Linked DNA regions of Homo sapiens: region 2 is linked to region 1. Evidence: promoter capture Hi-C in 16 types of primary human blood cells and fetal thymus (Javierre and others, 2016). All regions are on one chromosome and are shown on one strand. The core of a region is centred on a gene start or on the middle of the fragment in contact, and the rest is flanking DNA. Distances in the headings are between cores, read along the strand shown.

What was found. The method cuts DNA at HindIII sites, captures the fragments that hold promoters and counts their contacts. A CHiCAGO score of 5 or more calls a contact.
Region 2: a fragment that was not itself captured here is called in contact with the fragment with the promoter of TBC1D1 in region 1 in 1 of 17 cell types (M2 macrophages); the score reaches 5.8 in M2 macrophages.

Annotation. Positions count from the first base shown.
Region 1 is chr4:37,888,205-37,894,754 of GRCh38, forward strand. It overlaps TBC1D1 (TBC1 domain family member 1), which reads left to right and starts at 2,880. Exons shown (of 22, transcript NM_001396959.1): 1 at 2,880-3,144. RefSeq lists silencers at 2,399-2,588, 2,909-3,408, 4,438-4,487 and enhancers at 4,188-4,317, 4,748-5,027. The HindIII fragment of the contact is 15,185 bases long and covers 1-6,550 here.
Region 2 is chr4:38,732,020-38,738,569 of GRCh38, forward strand. No RefSeq gene overlaps it. Among named protein-coding and RNA genes, the nearest start is that of TLR10, 48 kb to the right of the region's middle. The HindIII fragment of the contact is 699 bases long and covers 3,137-3,835 here.

The sequences.
Region 1 (6,550 bases), core at 1,630-4,129:
CCTTATTGCATACTATAGAGGGAGTTCTGTTTCCCAGAAGTTGAAAGTATGGTAAAATCCCTCCTCATCATTCTTAGGGTGCTAGCTGTCCTGGGAGCTGGAAAAGTGATGCAGAAATTGCTGCTTCTCACAAGGCCATGACCTCTCCCTAACCTAGGTAAGGGTCAAGGCAAATGGTCATTTGCCACTAAATTATAAATCTCTGAGCTGGAACTTGCTGGATGTCAATGCTTTGAGAGATATGAGGCCTGGGCCTGCATCTGGGCCCCACCCATCGACTTCCTACATCTGTATTCTGGTTAGGCACCCCGCCTGGCTGCCTACCTGTACTTAAGCCTTCCTGTACTCTGGGACTAGGGGTAAGGGTGAAGAGAGGGTAGAGGAGGTGAGCAAGTGAGGGAAAGAAAAGGTAGTGGAGTGGCAGGATGGGAGGGGGCTCTAGCCAGGATGTTCTGTAAGCAGAGCCCAGCAAATTATCTCTGTTCCCCTTGGCCTGACCCCTTTTCCCAGGAGCAGGGCCTGGCAAGCAGGGTTGTTAGGTAACAGTTTCAACCATCCTCTGGTGGGTTACATACAAAAAGCAGTTTACAGTGTCAATGAAATGAATGCTAGTGTACCTTTCTCGACCTCCTAGCACTCTGGAGGTAAATGTGTGCAGCAGGTCACTGCAGACAGGGAGAGAGAGTTCTACAACAGAGTTGAAGGTAAAAACATGAAATAATTTGGGATATGACCCAAGTGATAACAATATGGTTTAACTGGTTTACCTGGTCTTGTAACCTAAAGAATAATTTCCATAACCCAGTTAACATTCTACTCATTACAGTATTTATGACTGTATATTTCTTAAAAAAGAGTTGAGGCTATGCACACAAATAACTACTCAATGACAAAGAATGAGCTGAGGGCTACACAGTGGCCAGAGAGCAAGTATATTATAAAGGGCTTTGGATCTTGGAGATTCCAGCACCCACTAACCCTGTAGGCACTAACCTCTTACTTTTCTCCTTAGTCAAATGGATTTAACAATCTTTGCCCTGCAGAGTTTTTGAGCAAATTAGCAACAATATATAAGGACAGTATCTAGCACAATACCCCAAATCGACTAACTCCTCCGTAAAGAATAGCTACCACTATTGTGAGAGTTTTAAGTCAAGCTGTGAATAAAACTCTTGGGTCCACTTAAAAATACCTCCCCTGGATGTAAGCATCCAGGGAAATCAGGGAATGCCATAAGACAGCCCTAATCTAAAAGCCTACAAGAAGCTCAGTGGGCTTCAAGGAAGACACTGCTCTTGGTACGATGAGGAAACCTGGCCCTCTATTTGCCTCCTGGGCCACAGTAATATTGATAATAGCTGCTGCTTTTAGTTGAGGACCATGTACGTCTGTGTCACTGCACTGGCCACTTTACTTACACTTTCCTGCTTTGTCCTCACAAAGATCCTGTAAGGTGTGTATTGGTCCCATTTAGCAGGTAAGACAATGAAGACCAGAGGTCCAGCACCTTGCCTAAACCACACCTGCTGGGATTTGGATTCAAGTCCAACCGTACAGCTCAAACGCTCAGCCACTTCCCTAAAGTCCACCCCCAGCTACATTAAGTAAAAAAATCCAGAAAGATGCCACCTGGGGGTCTGGAACTGCCTCCTCCGAGCACCCGGCTCTCCCCTCCCTGCGGACTCTTCTCTGGAGAGGATGTGATGCTTCTTACTTTTCTCAGATCCCTCTCCCCACCCTGCGAGTGACGTTGCGCCTCTGTGCCTGGTGGGATAGGGATCTGGGAGCTTCGCCTGTTTTTTGCACACTGCCATCCCCTAGTCTTAGGGAGCGAGCTCTGTCCCGCTTTTCACATCTCCGCGTCTTTCCTTGCACTCTACATCACCGCTGGGAATGTCCCCAGACCTGATCGGGGCATGCACACTGGGGTGTGCGTGTGCGTGTGGTGTGTGTTCCTGCGCGTGTGCCGGGCTCGCGGGGCAGGAAAAAGCGCCTAATCCAGGCTCTGCGTCACTCCCGCAATTGGTTAGAAATGGAGTTTCCTGGTGTTTAATCCCGGGAGGGCACTTCGCCTTCGTTGTTTCCCAGAGTCCCTGATTTTCCTGCCTCGCATGCCAGCGCCCCATAGGGCATCCGTGCCTCAGTTCACCTCTTGCCATCCTCCAAGGACGGGGAGAAGGGGTAAGGCGGGGGAGAGCAAGGTGGCTTGGTCGCCCCCGGCCCCCGCCCCCCATGTTGTGTGCAGTTTCCACCACGTCTGTTTCGGAGGGAGAAGAGGAGGGTGCAGATGAGGCGAGGCGCCTTCGGGAGCGCGGAGAGCGGGCAGGCAGTGCCACCTGCTGAGAGCCACTCAGGCCGAGCAAGCGGCGGGCAGTGCCACCTGCTATAAATAGGCCGCCAAGGACAGGGTGTGCGACTGTACATCCCGCCACGAGGGCCTGCATCACGCGCGGGGCCCCGCGCCCCCGGCTCCCCAGGGAAACGCTGTGCCCAGATCCTGCGCAGGGGTCTGGATGGGGCGGCGGCCCGAGTACTTCCCCCCTATTCCCCCCACAGACACTGGCTGAGGATGGCCCGCGGGCTTGGGGGCGGGGGGTGGCAAGGAGGGGAGGGAGGCCGCGGCGGACCCGCAGTGCAGCAGCTGTTGCTCGCGTGTGACTCGCCCGTCCGGGCCGTGCTGCCCAGGCACAGTCACACGGCGCAGTGGGGAGGAGGAGGACACCGAGTCCCCCTCCCAGCTCCCCGGGGACCGAGTGGGGAGATCCCGGCTCCTGTCTTCCCCTCGCCTCCAGCGCGCTCGCCCAGGCTGGGAGGAGGAAACCAGAGCCGCGCGCAGACACCTCCTCCTTCTCCTCCTCTTCTTCCTCCTCCTCCTCCTCCTCCTCTTCGGCTGCTGCTCCTGGTGCCGCCACCGTCCGCCGGTGCCTGTTGCTGCCGCCGCCGCGGGACCTGCTGTGTCCTCAGCTGGGTGGAGAAGAGGCGGGCGCCGAGCCGAGGGGAGCCCCCTCCCCGTCCCCCCGCGGCGGGAAGAGCGCAGCCAGCCGGGTGCGATGGACTCCCCGCCCGCCCAGGCCGTCCCCAGGATGCCCCCAAGCACCTGCGCGTCCCGGCCCGGCCCCGGGCTCTGAGCGCGCCGCGGCACAGGTAAGGCGCTTCCTGGGGCTTCGTCCTGGCCACCCTGCTGGCTCCTCTCGGGGCGTCGCGGCCGCCCCCTCCCGCAGCACGCCCCTGCCCCGCCTGGCCGCGGAGGGGAAGGCATCTGGCCGCCCACGGACGCGAGGCCAGGGTCTCTCGGGGGAGGAAGTTCATTGCCATCTCGTTGCCCCCCTTACCCCCCCACCCCCGCCGCCCTTGGACGAAAGCGAAACCTTAATGTTGCTAGCGACCCGAGAGCTCCGCCGGCTTCTCCCCCAACCCCCGCCAGCTCACTGGTCCGCGCATCTCTCCCCTCCCCCCTCCCGCCAATTATCCTAGCGTGTTTGCAAGGCGACCAGATTGGAAAGAGTGTGGTCAGAGTGACCCCAAGCCACGCTTTAAAAGTTCAGGGTACTTTGCAGTAGTAACTTTGGCAGCTCCACCAGTGCGCGCAACATTTCTTTCTATGGGTACATCCTGTACCAGTCATTTTGAAACCCTGCTTCATTGTTTCTAGCCGCTTCCTGATGGCTCTGTGATTATGAGACCCCCCTCAAACTTCACCAGGCATTAAGGTTTTGTTTTTGCTTTTTTTTCAGAGAGGTATCATTTCGTTTGAAATCCACCTAGATGTGGCTTTTCCTGTTTTGATTTTACTTAACATAGCTTATTCTCTGGAAGTTGCTTTAAAAAGAAATTGAAAGTGATGGTTGTTCCTTCCACCAAACAGTTTAATTTTCAGGGTGCCTCATATTAATGGATATGTTTTCCCTTCATAGATTTCTCATTGTTTCCCTTATGATGGGATGATTTCATTTATTAATAAAATCAGACTTTGAAAGAGCATTTAAAAATGACCTGGTTTAAATAGGTCACACCCAAGAAACTCAGCTATCTGTACAAGTTCAAACTTCTAAACTTTTTCAATGAGCTAGGGGTGGTGGCACCCACCTGTAGTCCCAGCTACTTGGGAGGCTGAGGCAGGAGGATCACTTGAGCCCAGGAGTTCGAGGCCATAGTGAGCTATGACTGTGCCACCTCACTGGAGCCTGGGTGACAAAGTGAGATCCCATCTCTTAAAAAAAAAGAGTTTAGGGGACATTTTCTGAAGTGAACACAAGTAGAGCATTCTAACACTATTGAGTGCAAGGAGACCTGGAAGGGACTAAGTGGTTCAAAGCAGGAAATAAAATCATCAGGTGATAATTAAAATAATTTCTTTCCTGTGGATTTGTCCAGCCATTTGCAAACCAGGAGAATAGGAAAAAAAATCACTAGTGTAGTTATAAATTATTACATTACGTTTTCAAAGGAAAATTTTGCAAATGCGTCTCCTTGTCATAGTCTATTGTTATCTACCCCACTGAGAGTGCTGGGGCTTCCCCTTTTCACCACGACAGCATTTCTGGTTGGGTGGCAGTCATGCAGTGTTGACCTGGTGTCCCATAAGGCACAGTTTGTCAAAACACTAGTGGGTATTAGGAGGAAACGTGCAACTCTGAAGCAACAGAGCTTGCCCCTTCTTCCTCATTATCCAGCTGGTGATAATCCCTGTCCCCCACTTCCCTAGAAGACAGCTTTGACCAGGAAGGCTGCAATGACAATGAGATGTACCCCTATGCAGAGCCAGATGTGGGCGGGTGGCTTTTTTGTGGTCCAGATCTTCTAGGATCTTCTAGGATGTAACCCTGGCAAGCAGTGGGGAGCCTGAATCAAGCAGCATGGCTGTTACCTCTTCTGTGTTCACAGCAGCATCTTCAGTTGTCTTGGTGCCTGGAGCAGGCACCACAGCTGCCTGCTCTGTTGGCCACCAGCTTTCTAGAGTAGATGGTAGGGAGGAGAGCAAGGGGCTCAAGAGGATTCTGTCTTTGAACATGCTTTTAATTTGATCTGACAGAATGGCAGCTCCCTGAAGTCCTTCCTACTCTCTCCACAGCATTTCTCTGTAGGTCCCCAGTTTTTGCTCTTTTCAGATTCCCAGAGGACTGAAAATGTATCACGGCCCATTTGGGGACTTCCTGTATATGTGTGGGTGCCTCAGGATCATTTGTTTTGCCCTTTTCCAGTCTACCGTGCTGCCCTTCTCAAGTTTAATGACCACGTTAGTTTCAATATTTTATATATTTCTCAGCAGTTTTCATCTCTTGGTCATTAAACTTGAGAAGTAAAATCTGCTCATTAAAATGACTGAGTCCATGGCCAGGCATGGTGGCTCATGCCTGTAATCCCAGCACTTTGGGAGTCCAAGGCGGGTGGATCACTTGAGGTCAGGAGTTCGAGACCAGCCTGGCCAGCATGGCAAAACCCTGTCTCTACAAAAATATAGATCTACAAAAACTAGCCAGGCATGGTGGCATGTGCCTGTAGTCCCAGCTATTTGGGAGGCTGAGACAGGAGAATCGCTTGAAGCCAGGAGGCGGAGGTTGCAGTGAAACATGATCGTGCCACTGAGTCCATTCAGCAGCAGAGTAGTGTTGGGGTTTGTATCCCTGTAGTGATGACGAAGGATTTAGGTTTTCAGTCAGAACTGTTACCTTACAATTTCCTTCACTGACTTTTCTTCCTTTCCAACACCACATTCCAATAAAAAATATCTTTAGACCAGATTCTTCACGAAAGACATGAAGGTTTTCATGCTTCAAGGTTTTTGACTTTTTTTTTTTTTTTTGAAAGGAGTCTTGCTGTGTCACCCAGGCTGGAGTGCAGTGGCGTGATCTCAGCTCACTGCAACCTCCGCCTCCTGGGTTCAAGTGATTCTCCTGCCTCAGCCTCCCAAGTAGCTGGGACTACAGGCGTGCTCTACCACGGCCGGCTAAATTTTGTGTTTTTAGTAGAGGCGAGGTTTCACCATCTTGGCCAGGCTGGTCTTGAACTCCCGACCTTGTGATCCACCCGCCTTGGCCTCCCAAAGTGCTGGGATTACAGGTGTGAGCCACGGCGCCCGACCAGTTTTTGACATTTCTAAGCCAAAAGTTCCATTTGATGAGGTCTTAGATGCAGGGGCAATGTGTCCCTTTTCAGATTTCAGATGTTTAGAAAAAGATGTGTCATATTTGGGCCAACTGAAAAACTCTTGATATGTAGGTTTTTATGAAGCTGTGCAGAATGTAGGAAATACATTTTAGAACCAACAAAGAGGCATTTAATTTTGAGTGTGCCTGTCTCCTTTGAGATGAGCAACAGCTATTTTTCTCTTCAAAAGACAATGCGTGTATTTATCAGCACATTTTATATAATCAGCAAATCTAAACCTCTGAATTAGGTAAGCCCTATAGGTTTGTTGCCAGAATTAGTGAATTTATACATGCAAAGTGCTTAGAACAGTGCCTGGTACACAGTGAGCACTCAATATTATTTATTGCTATTATTATGTTTATTTATTTTATACTTTTAGAGTATAATTTTGATGTTAGGT
Region 2 (6,550 bases), core at 2,236-4,735, 840 kb after region 1:
AGGTGGGAGATCACTTGAGGCCAGAAGTTTGAGACCAGCCTAGGCAACCTAGCAAGACTCCCCCTCTACAAAAAAATTTAAAAATTGACACATGCCTGTGGTCCCCGCTACTTGAGAGGCTGAGGTATGAAGATCATTTGAACCCATGAGTTTGCAGCTACAGTGAGCTGTGATTGCACCACTGCACTGCAGCTTGGGCAACAGAGTGAAACACTGTCTCTAATTAATTAATTAATTAATTAATTAATTAATTTTTAATTAAAAAGAAAAAGAAAAAAGAATAACTTTCATATCAGCCAGGCACTTCCAAAGTTGTTGGGCTTGTTGGTTGTCTCTGATAGCAAAATAATCTATAGACTGCCTTTTATTTCTGCTTTTGGGAAAATTTAATAAAGTTTGGTTTCTGAGGTAGTACCCTCAATTTAACAATTTGTTTTCTTGAAAATTTGAAGATTATATATATGTCTCTTCACGTGTATGCATATGCCTTATGTATATACACACATATGTGTATTTGTGCAAACATGTATACATCCATATTCCATTTTAGGCATTAGGCATATGCTTACAAAGATACATAAACATATATATTGTGAGCATGTTTAAGACTATATAGGCCAGATTGGTGGCTCACATCTGTAATCTCAGCACTTTGGGAGGCTGACGCAGGCGGATCACTTGAGATCAGGAGCTTGAGACCAGCCTGGCCAACATGGGGAAACCCCATCTCTACTAAAAACACAAAAAAATTAGCCGTATATGGTGGCGGGCACTTGGAGTCTCAGCTATTTGGGAGGCTGAGGCACAAGAATTGCTTGAACCTGGGAAGCAGAGGTTGCAGTGAGCCAAGATTGCACCACTGCACTCCAGACTGAATGACAGAACAAGACTCTGTCAAAAAAAAAAAAAGACTATATAAACACATACATACAGAATGCCTTATAGATGTTTATGCCCCTTTGAGTGGAACACTGGTGGTTGTGGGGAGGAAGGCACACATGGAAGAAGTAAAAATAGCCATAGGGTTCCCCAGGGGACGATATTCTCAAGAAATTTGGAAGTTCAGCAGGGCACAGCTCAGAAAGGGAGGTGATGGTGGTGGTGGTGGTAGTGGTGTTGATGATGGTGATGGTGGTGGTGATGGTGATGGTGGTGGTGATGATGGTGGTGGTAATGGTGGGATGGTGGTGTTGGTGGTGATGGTGGTGGAGGCTGTGGTGTTAGTGGTGATGGTGGTGGTACTGGTGGTAGTGGTGATGGTGGTGGAGGCAGTGGTGGCGGTGGTGGTGATGGTGGTGGTGGTGATGATCATGGTTGTTGGGGTGGTAGTGGAGGTGGTGATGGTGGTAGTGTTGGTGGTGGTAGTGTTGGTGGTGGTGGTGTTAGTGGTAGTGATGGTGTTGGTGGTGATGGCGATGATGGTGGTGGAGGTGGCGATCATTGTGGTTGTGTTGGTAGCAGAGGTGGTGATGGTGGTGGTGGTGATGGTGGTGGTGGTGGTGTTGGTGTTGGTGTTGGTGTTGGTGATGGTGATGGTGATGGTGTTGGTGGTGATGGTGATGATGGTGGTGGTGGTCATCGTGGTGGTTTTGGTGGTAGTGGAGGTGGTGATGGTGGCAGTGGTGGTGATAGTGATGGTGCTGGTCGTGGTGGTGATGGTGTTGATGGTGGTGGTGGTGATGGTGTTGATGGTGGTAGTGGTGATGGTCCTGGTGGTGATGGTGATGATGGTGGTGGTGGTAGTGGTGATCCTGGTGGTTGTGGTGGTAGCGGTGATGGTGTTGGTGGTGTTGGTGGTGTTGATGATGTTGTTGTTGGTGGCAATGGTGGTGGTAGTGGTGTTGGTGGTGGTGATGGTGTTGGTGGTGATGGTGATAATGATGGTGGTGGTGGTGACCATGGTGGTTGTGGTGGTAATGGAGGTGGTGATGGTGGTAGTGGTGGTGATAGTGATGGTGCTGGTGGTGTTGTTGGTAGTGGTGATGGTATTGGTGGTGGCAGTGGTGATGGTCCTGGTGGTAATGGTGATGATGGTGGTGGTGGTAGTGGTGATCATGGTAGTTGTGGTGGTAGTGGTGATGGTAGTGGTGATGGTGGTGGTGGCAGTGGTAGTGATGGTGATGATGGTAGTGCTGGTGGTGGTGGTGATGGTGGCCTGGTGGTGGTGGTGGAGCTGGTGGTGATGGTGGTGGTGGCAGTGGTGATGGTGGTGGTAGAGGTGGTGGTGATGGTGGTGGAGGTGGTGGTGCTGGTAATCGTGGTGGTGGTGGCGGTGATGGCAGTGGTGGCGGTGGTAGTAGAGGTGGTGGTGGTGGTAGAGGTAGTGGTGATGGTGATGGTGGTAGATGTGGTGGTGGTGGTGGTATATCTACATGATGCAGCAGGCTAGTAGAAGATCCCAAAAAGTTGATTTCAAGAGTAGCTGGTGGTTGTGGTAGAACCAGCTTTGCCATTCTTTTGCCAGGAAAAACTTGTGCTTGGCATCACTACTTGTGGCACGCCTCTTCCGAGCCCTAGACTAAGTGCCCTCTCTGAGCCTCCATAGCACCCTGTAGCACTCACTCCTACCATAGTGTCTGTCGCTCTCTTGTCTGACCTCTCAGTATAAAGGAAGCTCGATGAGAGTGAGTAAAGCTTTTCCTTTTCACTTCTGCATCTCTAGTTCTCAATACATTGCCTGGCACGAAGTTGGCACACTGTAAATACTTGTTGCATGGATGAATGGATAAGCAGACAGGTGGACACATGCATGAATGAATGAAAAAATGAATAAGTGAGTAAATAAATAAAAAAGAGTCAGAGGTCTGCAAGCCTGGAACTGGGAATTATTCCTACCTGAGGAGCTCCAGAGAGCAAGAGCAAGAACTGGGGATTTACCATCTGCTGGGGTTTGCCTCCTGGTAGAATGATGGATCAGCAGCAATGGCACTTTATCATAGCCCAAGGACATAAAGCATTCTGATTCAGGAAGCCTCTTGAGACTGAAGAACCTCCTAGCTGAGAAGATATTTCTCCAAGGCAGCCCTAGCCAGATGGGAAGTTATTTTGGATGAAGTCACCCTGTGGTAGTTGAAAAACACAATACGGTCAACACCTACTCTGTGATGACAGCATGCATCTTCCCTCTAGTGTTCAAAGCTTACTTTGGCCTTATGAAGTAGGCATGATTATTCTATAAAGAAGAAGGCTGCACCCAAAGATGCGGAGTGGCTGGCTAGTAAGTACAGAGTCAGGATTCAAACCAGCTCTGTTGGCTCCAGTATCCCCTGTGGCTACTTGGGAAAGCAGGATTGATGAAAAAGGGAAGAAATTCTGTTGGTTAGAGAAACACTCACTGCTGTAGCAAACTCTGAAATTTGTAATTGCTCCAATAATAGACGTGTATTTCTCATGTAGAGTCTCAAATGGGATTCCTGGTGAGCAGATGGGCCTTCTCCAAGAAGAGATTCAGGAACCTGTGCTCCCTCCATCCTGTGGTACCATCAACTTCACATGTGACTTCAAGCTGCCACACCCATCTGCTTCGAACTGGCAGCAGGGAAGAGCCTGGGGGAATGGGAGGTTTTGTGGATCAGATGTAGAGGTGGCACACGTCACTTCTAATCACCCTTTGGCTGTAACTCAATTACTTGGCCAGTGCTTACCAGCGATGTAACTTCAACAGAGCCTGCAAAATACAGTGCAGCTCTGTGCCAGGAGAAAGGAGGCAATGAGTTTGGTGAAGATAGGCAATCTCCACCACAACCCATACCCAACAACTGGGGACAGCAGTGAGATTCCAGGACAGCAAAAGCCCAGCTCAGCCCTCCACTAGGGTATAATAGCCCTGTAGGTAAGCTTGGAGGAAGTCAAAATTTGAAGCTCTATCTTGGGCTGCACACATGCCTAAAGCCTTGTTTATTGTATCCCCTTCTTTGGGGAACTGTTCCTCTCGAGCTTCAATAATGCCAATCCTAGTATTCTTAGACCCCTAGCTAGAGGTAAGCATATGACTCAGGTTTAAGGGTGGGCATTCAGGGATCAGTTTAGGGAAGGTCACGTGATCCTAGAAGAGCCTATTGGCATGCTTCCCTAACCAATCAAGAACGCTTTGCTCCTAATTGTCTGGTTATAGGGCTGCAAGGATGGAAGTGAGGAGTGGTCTGACATCATGCCTGCACCCTCAATGGAGAAAGCCAGAAGAAAGAAGGCAGCATGTAGAAAAGAGCTGAGAAAGAAAGAGAGAAATGACAGCAATGACAGTGTTCAAGTCCCTGGCTCTTTAAGGCTAGGCTACTCCTCCTTTGCTTTTTTTTTTTTTTTTTTTTGGACAGAGTCTCACTCTGTGCCCAGGCTAGAGTGCAGTGACGCAATCTCGGTTCACTGAAACCTCCACCTCTGGGGTTCAAGCGATTATCCTGCCTCAGCCTCCTGAGTAGCTGGGACTACAAGTATGCACCACCAAGTCCAGCTAATTTTTGTACTTTTAATAGAAATGGGATTTCCCATGTTGGCCAGGCTGGTCTCGAACTCCTGACCTCAAGTGACCCACCCACCTCAGCCTCCCACAGTGCTGGGATTACAGGCAGGAGCCACCGCACCCAGCCACCCCTGCCATTTCTATGGTTTGATTATATAACTCAATATATTCCCTCTTTGCTTAATCTAGTTCAAGTTGAGTCACTTGCAATCCTAAGATTTATGAGTTAACACATCCAACATGCCAGACACCAAGAGATTCTAGCAGGTAAATGGGCTTCAACAACAAATCCATATCAACTCCCACAATGCTTTTGTCCAGTGTTAGCTCTGCTCACGTGTATTCTCTCTCTGTCTCTCTCTTTCTCTCTCTCTCACACACACAAACCCTCTTGCACACTGGGAGTCCCCCCCAATGATACATTGAAATTCTAATTCCCAGTAACTCAGAATGTGACCTTCTTTGGAAATAGGTCCATTACAGAGGTCATCATGTTGAAACGAAGTCATTATGGTAGGCTTAATCTGGTGTGACTTATGAAAGAGAGAAATTCAGACACAAAGACACGCACACACAGAGGGAAGATGATGTGACGAGACATCATCAGGGAAATGGACAATGACACGTGAAGATGAAGGCAGAGACTGGGATGAAAAGCAGTAGGTATTTGTCTTTGTAAGTTCTCTGGAAAGGCCTTGAGAAATTTCATTTCTCTCGTCATACTGTGTATGTACAGGTATGTGTATATGTATGTGTACGTATATAAACATTCTGTGTGGGAAAATGAGTAGAAGAAGATTAAAGCAATCTAGTGTACAGATGGTGTGTGTGTGTGTGTATGTGTGTTTTGGACATGGGGAAGAAGGTTTCCATAACAATGGTAATACTAATTTCCATTTATTATTATCTGCTTTATGACAGATATTATTCTTTGTAAATTTTTTTTTCTTTCTTCTTTTACAAGATCCTACAGCTAGCATGTCAGATATTACTCTTGGGCATAATATAGACATGATTTCATTTAGTTCCAGTAAGGAGGAGTGTGTCTTGATTTGAGGTCAGTTTGGCCGGGCGCGGTGGCTCACGCCTATAATCCCAGCACTTTGGGAGGCTGAGGCGGGCGGATCACAAAGTCAGGAGATCGAGACCATCCTGGCCAACATGGTGAAACCCCGTCTCTACTAAAATACAAAAAAAAAAAAAAAAAAAAATTAGCCAGGCGTGATGGCACGCGCCTATAGTCCCAGCTACTCAGGAGGCTGAGGCAGGGGAATAGCTTGAACCTGGGAGGCGGAGGTTGCAGTGAGCCAAGATCACGCCACTGCACTCCAGCCTAGGCGACAGAGCAAGAATCCATCTCAAAAAAAAAAAAAAAAAAAGAAGTCCGTTCATACCTGAGTTTGAATCTCAGTTCTTCTGTTTATTAGCTATCTGGCCTGAGTGAGATTACTTAACTTCCATGAGCCCTATTTTCTCTATGGAATAATAATGTCTATTCCATGGAATTTCAGTAAAATTAATGCAATAATATATATAAATTGGAACCAACCCAAATGTCTATCAGTGACAGACTGGATTAAGAAAATGTGGCACATATACACCATGGAATACTATGCAGCCATAAAAAAGGATGAGTTCATGTCCTTTATAGGGACATGGATGAAGCTGGAAACCATCATTCTGAGCAAACTATCGCAAGGACAGAAAACCAAACACCATTCCCACTCATAGATGGGAATTGAACAATGAGAACACATGGACAGAGGGTAGGGAACATCACACACCGGGGCCTTCCAGGGGGTGGGGCGAGGGGGGAGGGATAGCATTAGGAGATATACCTAATGTAAATGACAAGTTAACGGGTGCAGCACACCAACATGGCACATGTATACATATGTAACAAACCTGCACGTTGTGCACATGTACCCTGGAACTTAAAGTGAAATAATAAAAAAAAAAATAAAAATATAAATAAAATAAAAATAAATTGGGTGGCCTATAGGAAGGTCCCTAGTAAGTGTTTGATAGTATCATTCATCTTCAGAATCACCCTCTATGTCAGGCATTTATAATTCCCATTTCTCAAATAAG